2 separate regions of the Homo sapiens genome follow, and region 2 is linked to region 1. The links are contacts of gene promoters, found by promoter capture Hi-C in human tissues and cell types (Jung and others, 2019). All regions are on one chromosome and are shown on one strand. Each heading gives the region's core, a stretch centred on a gene start or on the middle of the fragment in contact. The rest is flanking DNA. Distances are from core to core; before and after follow the strand shown. Region 1 holds the start of NMT2 (N-myristoyltransferase 2). Region 2 holds the start of LOC124902378 (a long non-coding RNA gene).

Region 1 (3,948 bases), core at 475-2,974:
ATATATGACTGCTGAGTTTCCTTTGCCTTAAGTTTTAAAAACTCTTTTAGAGAACCCTTCTGGCAGGTTAGAGTGGATGATTTGATTGATAGGCTTGCTCCTGGCCAGTTTCCTGTTGGTTACCCGAGCGGGCTGCGGGTTCTCCAACAATCCATGTTCACAGAGATGAGCTGCAGGAACCTCACTCATCTGTATTTGCTTCTATCCTAAAGTTTCACAGAGGTGACATGTGACATTTTGCCTCAGAAATAGTTGCCGTTGTTAAAGGCAATATTGTATTTCCTTTTGTGTTTTGACCCCATTTGCCCTTCTTACAGAATTTTAGTTGTCTCAATGCCAAACAGCTGACGGGCTTTGAAATCGCTCTGCAGTTTTCATCTTTTGATACTTCTAGCTCATTGCGTTTTAAAAACATAGTCTCCCTTGGGGAAAAAAGCCATAAAATGCTCCTAGTATCTTCTGCAAAAAAAGGACCCACACCAAAAAATTCAGGTGGCTCTTTAAAGTCTCATTTTCCTCACTGAGCGGGTTCTGATGATTATCTTTGCAAAACCACTGCGGAGACTTCCGGTGGCCTAGCAGCACATTTGAACAAGATCATCTCAGCAAAGCAAAGGACAGGACTGCTCTGTACAGAATGCAGTAGCAAATAAGAGAGGCTGAACTTCACCGGTCTTCTATTTGGCAGTACTACAGAATGCCTCCCTTCCCTCTTCTGAGAGAGACAGCGGACAATTTCAGCACAGAAGGCCGTGCACGTTTGCTTGGAAATCTAGGTCATGACCTTGACTTTGGGAAAGCCAGGGTAGCCTACCTGAAACTGTCCAATCCCCCAGCATCGTGGACACGTCCCCAAGTCCCTCAAGATGTCTGTTCTGGTCTGAGCCGTCCGTAGTAGTGTCCAGGGAAAGCAGGGGTAGCTCAAAAATTTCTGTCAAGAGTTTTAGTGCTGCAAGCCTGGTTGGGACAGGGCGGTGGAGGGCTGGAAATACTGTTTTTGACTTTGAATTTGATTTTATAATGTATTAGATGGATAGATAGATGCGAAATGGAATTGTTAACATGTATGTGGAGGGGCGGGAAGAGTTTCTGGAAAGCCCCATCCCTGAGTGCCTACTCCTGAGTGGGAAAAACCCCTGCACGGGCTGGGAGCGCTCCCTAATTCGTCCAGAAGTAAAATCGCATGGCCTGTGTTCCAAAAATGCCGCCACTCAGGATGTCAAGTCTGCACGTTTGCAGCTTTGAGAGCCGAGCCCCAGGCAGAGGCACCGCGCAGGCCTGGATGTACAGGACTCGGCCCTGTGCAGGGCTGGCCAGGGTGAGCAGGGTTGGAGCTGGCGGGGCGGGGAGGGGCGGGGCCATCTGGGAGGGGCTGCGGCGGTGGGCGGGGTTAGAGGGCGGGTTTGAAGCCGGCAGGGTGGGGAAAGGCGGGGCTGGAGGGGAGGGGTCTCAGAGGCGGGCGGGGTTAGAGAGCTGGATTGAAGCCGGCGGGACGGGGAGAGGCGGGGCTTGGTGGGGAGGGACGAAGAGGTGGGCGGGGTTCAAGCCCGTGGGGCAGGGCGGGGCCGGCGGGCAGGGCGGGGCCGGCGGGCTGGGCGCGGACGGTGAGGGGCGGGGATGGAGGGCGGGGCGGGACGGAGGGCGGGGAGGGGGCGGGACGGAGGGCGGGACGGGGCGCGGGCGGGGCGGGGCGGGGCGTAGCGCCCGGGCTCCGACTCCAAGCAGTACGGCGGGAGGCACTAGAGGGAGCTGCGGCCGCTCCGGCCCGGCCCCGAGCACCGCCTCCCCAGCCAGCGCCGCCGCGATGGCGGAGGACAGCGAGTCTGCGGCCAGCCAGCAGAGCCTGGAACTGGACGACCAGGACACGTGCGGGATAGACGGGGACAATGAGGAGGAGACGGAGCACGCCAAAGGGTAGGGGCGGCGCGCTGGCGCACCGGGCGCGACAGGGCGGGGACCGCGCGCGCCACGGTCTCCCGTTCGGGGGTGGCTCCCAGGACTGGGGGTTCTTCGGCCGCTCCGCCCCGCGATGGCTTCTCCGTGGCGCGGAGCCCATGGTGAGGTCCGGGGCGCGCGGCTCGCGGGAGAGTGCAGTGCGCGGGGAGGCGAGGCCCGGGGTGGGCGGGGAGGCTGGGGCCCGGGCGGGGAGACGCTACTGTCACTTGCCGCGCGCCCCCGGCCAGCCTCGCCCATCCCCGCCGGCGGCCTGGCCCAGGAGGCGCCTGTTGCCCTCGCCCGCGGGTGGCTCCGGTGGGCGCCGAGGAGAGGCGCTACGCCCTTCCCTTTGTGGCGGCCGCAGCCTGGGGTAGGAGGTCGCCCTCCTCTGCTCCCTGCCATCCTTGTTAAGTCCCTTCAGACTCCCTCTCCGCAGCCGCCACCCGAAAAGAATGGGCAAAGACGTGGGTGGAGCGGCGTGGAGGTGCCCCGATGGTGTCGGGGCCGCAGGCGGCGAACTGCGCAAAGTTCTGGCGCCGAGGGGGTCCCGGGCCCGGCCCCTGCTGGGGATACTGGGCTTTGCACCGCCTCGCCTGTCCCTAGAGCTCTTCAGAGCAGGGCCGATCCCCTGAACCGGGCTCCCGCTGACCTGGCCGTATCCTGTTTGCAAAGCTGGTATTTGATCTCCAAAACTCGATGCACCACGCATTTTCACACTTGATCGGATTTCTTAATCCTTTCCCTTTGCCCCCGAACCCTGCAGACTTGATTTGCTCTTCTGTTGGAGAAAAGGATTGCTTCAGGTGAAGGCCGGTGTTGATGCTCTCTTTTTAGAGGCAGTGGGTCATTTTAAATAAAAACTGGTGTCCTTTTAAAGTGCTGTTTACATTACCCTTTTACCCTATTGGATTCAAACTATGCGCTGGCACAGAGCGGTTCTTGCTACACCCTTAGAAGTGAGATTTTTCGAACCATGGTGAGTGATGGAGAAGTGGGTCAGCTTAAAAAACATGATAGGGAGGCCTGAGTCACAGATGGTTTACTCAGTTCGTAGAGAGATTCTTGAAATGATTGATCATTGAAAGTGTAAATCATTTGCATTCTACTTGTCTACTTTAAGATTTATTATAGAAAGGGACTTTTGACTGACCTCTAATTCATTATAAAATATTAACAAATGAAGAAAAAGAAAAGCTGACTATGTGCATCTCCCATTTGCAAGTTGTTTTTATCTTTGCCGTGAATACTTCAGTGGCGGCTGCAAGTATCGAATGTTCGAGTCTAGAATATTTTTTTTTTTAAAGAGAGGAAAGGAAATTGCATAGGAATCTGAACCTGAGCCCTGTTTATGCAGGGATAGAAACGTGTTTGTGATAGATAGCTAAATACAAATATGTTTTTGAAACGGTAGTTCTATTGCCAGAAATGGGCCCAGGTGCAGATGCAAGCTGATGGATTAGCTTCAGTACCTGTGTTTTCTTTCTGGAGAGACCCTGGACTTTTATCTTCTCTGCTGTAATTTCTGTTTATTGTTCCTCCTTTGATTGATATTCTAGGTTGGGGGCTTGATTAGGACTTCTTTGCTTACACTGTTGAGAATGCCCCTGGTACAAAGAATTCCTCATCTGTGTGCGCATTGATCTGAGCCTGTCCCCCGACACCTTTCAAGAAGCTAAAGTTCCCAGAGTAGCACCCAGAGGCATCTGTGCTGCCTTCGGAAGTTTTCAGTTTTGTATATCAGCACATTTTATATATTAGAAAGGTTAATCAAAATTTAGAGATGCCCCATGGACTGAAATGTTTTCACCAAGAGCAGATACCATGTTAATAGCTTCTAGTGGGAAAAGATTAACATAATGGATGTATTGTACTCTATTTAAATGTAAGGAGATTAGGAAAACTCCAAATGACTGCTCTCCTTGGATTGCCTGTTTGGATTTGAATTTAGACAATGTGTGCCAAATTTGGGGGAGTAAATGTGTTTTATTTGGCTCATGTACTGATGATATCGCA
Region 2 (3,948 bases), core at 809-3,308, 990 kb after region 1:
GCTTTATGACCTCAGGCATGAGTGTCTCTGTTTATGAACATTTTTAAAAGACAGTAGTTTTGCTTTTAATGAACATATTTAGATACCATGGTTAAGATTCAATTTGCAAAATAGAGTGCATTTCCAGGTTTGGGAGTAAAAGATGCCCATCAATTTCATTATTTTGACACAGTGAGAAATTGAATCAAGCAATTACTTTCCTTTGTGCCTCAGGTTGAAGCTGGCCAAGGAAATTTAAGACACAGGAGTGATTTGAAAAAAAAAAAAGAAACAACTCCTTAGAGCTATGAAGATAATGCACATTGAGGCACATTTATTGTTTGAAAGGTCACATTGTAAACATAATTCCATTATTAGACAATCCCAGTACTGTTAAAGGGACCATCAAACACTCTGCAGGCATGGCCCATTCCAACTTGTAAAATTAGAATAACTTAGAAGAATGAGCTTTTATAACATAAAGGAATTTCCTGCAGATTTCTAAATAAATTAATGTGTAACTTTCCAAGACACCACTAATGATATAAAGTGAACTCTGTCTGCACATTATTTCATTCGTGCATGACACATAACTTTTCAAATAAAGTGAGGTGTAAATTCAATTTTAAATTAAGAAAAATCGAGTCTAAGACCATATAATCTGGAGATCACTTATCAGCACTCTGTAAACTTCAGTGTTCTTGTTTTTCTCTTCAAATATGTTACTGCCTAGCTCTATGCTTTTTCAGCATGGGTCAGTCTCTCTGTCTGAAGTCCTCCCTCACCTCCTACACATCTCCACCCCATCCTGCTTACGACAGCCCCACGCACCAACATCCTAACCTCCTCCAGATGGTCAAAGCCACCTTCAAGAATAGGATTTCCCTTGAAGCAGCCTAATCAACAATCCCAGGTGAAATGAGTACTTCTCCCAACGTTTGCTTCCACTTGAATTGTTCAACCCTCCTGCTAGTTCTCACTCAGTAGAATTCAGAAGGTTTCTGTGATTGTTACCTCTAATCCTTGGAGTTCTTAAATTTTTCAACAGCCTTCACCTGTACTCTTCACACTGGTAACCTCAGGGCAGAGCCCCCGGTCGAACCTGCCTTAAAGGAGGTTCTCAGCATATGTGTCCACCTTGAAGGAACCTAGGAACATCCCTGTACCAAGGAGTTCATGAGTTACTTTTAGGGTAGATGATGGGGGTCTCTTTCACACCCCTACCATGAAGGATAGGCCAATTAGAGAAAAAAAAAATTTTTGTCTTGTCAGACTTCTCTTGCTCTGTTGTCCAGGCTGGAGTGCAGTGGCAAGATCAGAGATCACTGCAGCCTCAAACTCCTGGGCTCAAACTCTCCTCCTGCCTTAGCCCTCCAAGTAGCTGAAACTATAGGCATGTGCCACCTTGCCTGGCTATTATTATTATTTTTTATTTTTTGTAGAGACAGTGTCTTCTTATGTTACCCAAGCTGGTCTTGAACTACTGGCCCCAAGCAATTTCATTGCCTGAGCCTCCGAAAGCACTGGGATTCCAGGCATGTGCTACTGCACCCTATCTCTCTCTCTTTTTAAAAACACAGCTTGAGAGTTCAAAGAAGTCTTAGAAGCAGAAACTGTGTCAACTCCCATCTCCATTGATCACTATCATTTTTGTCCCCTCCCCAGTCTAGGTTTGATAAACAATTATACGGCAGTTTGGTAGTAGTGTTGGGGTTGCCTCTTATAAAGAAAAAGCCACAAATAAACAAAGCTTTTGAAAGTGGTTTGTCCAAGTCGTGACAATCCTGAACATTTTGACAGAAATATCAAGAAAAGATGTAGTCCGGGTACCGTGGCTCACGTCTGTAATCCCAGCATGCACTTTGGGAGGCCGAGACGGGCAGATCACTCAAGTTCAGGAATTCAAGACCAGCCTGGTCAATATGGCAAAACCCCATCTCAACTAAAAGTACACAAATTAGCTGGGCATGTTGGTGCACATCTGTAGTCCCAGCTGCTGGGGAGGCTGAGGCAGGAGGATTGCTTGAGCTTAGGAAGCCGAGGTTGCAGTGAGCTGTGATTGTGCCCCTGCACTCCAGCCTGGACAACAGAGTGAGACCCTATCTCAAATAAAAAAAATTCATGGTAATCATTTCACAATGCGTACATATATCAGAACATAGTGTTTTATACCAGAAATATGTGCAATTTTTATTTGTCAAAAATTAAAATGTTTCCCTACATAATTTCTGTCGCACAATTCTTTAGTTTGGAGCTTGGAAATAACCCAACAAAAGCGGGAGGTAAAAATGCTACCCTGCATGCTAACTTTGCAGGAACATCCAACTGCTTCCCCTCTGTGACGACGGGAAGAAGGAGGCATTGCTTCCGCCCAGATGCCTGTCTCTCAGCTTTCTCCTTATCTGGGCTCCCAGAGGTCTTCTGAGCAAACACGGGGCAGCGATCTGGGGCTGCAGCAGCTGTCGGTTTTCTTCTCCCTCTTGACAAAAGTACTTAAACCACAAACCTTAAGGAAAAAAACAAAAAAAAGAAAAAAGTGGAAATACCTCTTTTCAAACACGGGAAAATAATGTCACTCTGCTCTTTAGATGTTTTCATAAAACATCGGGGCAGGTAGAGAACCATTTCCAGCTGAAGTGTTTATGATAATGAAGAAAAGCAGTTTTATTTTTCCCACTGTGAGACACTTTTTCGGAAAGGCAAGAACTGCTGAAGGGAAAAGTCTCCAAGGGCTAGATTCCAATTAACTTCTGTACCGATTGCTGATAACTTTAGGCAATTGCTGTTCTTTAGAAAATGGGGCAGAGTCTAAAAGATCATAAAGACGAGATGACTGATCAAGGCATAGAACCTCATACCGTGTTTTCCTCAGTGTGCCACAATTTTAAGGAATTGTAAATAAAATACAGTAGATCCTATACTTGACATTCAATAACATAGAAGTGCCGGAATGTGTGTCTTGGAGCTTAGACATTGATCTGGGGTCTGGAAAATAGTAATCATACAACCCATCACTGCGCATGGGTGAGCCACAGAAATGTGACAGCATTGGAAGAACTTGAAATTTTTGGAGTGAGAAAACCTGCGTTTGGAGTTCTAGTCAGCTCTGCTCCACAGTTTAGGAACTCTCATCTTGGATTAGGAATCGTATCCATTGGCTGCATAACAAATGCAATGCCTGGTGCCACACAGTAATAGGCATTGGTTTTTCAGAAGACTGTAGAGTTTTGCTGATGTAGGCTGGGCTCAGCTGATCTTGGCTAGTCTCACTCATTTGTGATTCTCTGGCTTGCTCGTAAGTCTGTAATGGAGGTTGGGTCTTCTGTTATCCTCCCGTTGGAATCAGCAGACTAGCGTGGGTGTATCTTTCCCATGCGCATTTCAAAATTCTGCTTGTACCGCCTTTGCTAGCCTTCTATCCATACTTGGGGAAAAAGAGAGGGTGGCAAAGTCACACAGCAAATTGCATGGATAACAAAATGTATGAATAATCAGGACCAAATGATGCTATCTACTACCATACTTAATGCTCTCAATCTCAGGTCATCATATGTTAAATGGGAATAATAATACACCTGTTAAAATTAAGTGAGATGACACTGAAGAGTATCTAGCTCAAGCCCTGGAACAAAGCTGATGCTCAATAAATATTACTCTTCTATTCACCTCTCCAATCTTATAAAATGAAAATGAATACCTGCCACATCTCATGGGATCATTGTGAGGTTTGTTTTTTGTTTGTTTGTTTTTTGGTTTTGTTTTTGTTTTGCTTTGTTTTTTTGATGGATTCTTGCTCTCTGTAGCCCAGGCTGGAGTGCAGTGGCACAATCTCAGCTCACCGCAACCTCCGCCTCCTGGATTCAAGCGATTCTCCTGCATCAGCCTCCTGAGTAGCTGGGACTATAGATGTGCACCACCATACCCAGCTAATTTGTATATTTTTAGTTGAGATGGGGTTTTGTCATATTG

The links. Contacts are between HindIII fragments. The study calls those that stand out against the background at their distance.
Region 2: a fragment that was not itself captured here is called in contact with the fragment with the promoter of NMT2 in region 1 in 1 of the 25 tissues and cell types used here (pancreas).

Annotation. Positions count from the first base shown.
Region 1 is chr10:15,166,469-15,170,416 of GRCh38, reverse strand. It overlaps NMT2 (N-myristoyltransferase 2), which reads left to right and starts at 1,724. Exons shown (of 12, transcript NM_004808.3): 1 at 1,724-1,914. The coding sequence starts at 1,805. RefSeq lists silencers at 1,525-2,354, 3,881-3,948. The HindIII fragment of the contact is 12,871 bases long and covers 1-3,948 here.
Region 2 is chr10:14,179,846-14,183,793 of GRCh38, reverse strand. All of the region lies in intron 2 of FRMD4A (FERM domain containing 4A), which reads left to right. LOC124902378 (a long non-coding RNA gene) reads right to left here and starts at 904. Exons shown (of 2, transcript XR_007062060.1): 1 at 823-904. RefSeq lists an enhancer at 2,250-2,544. The HindIII fragment of the contact is 3,305 bases long and covers 406-3,710 here.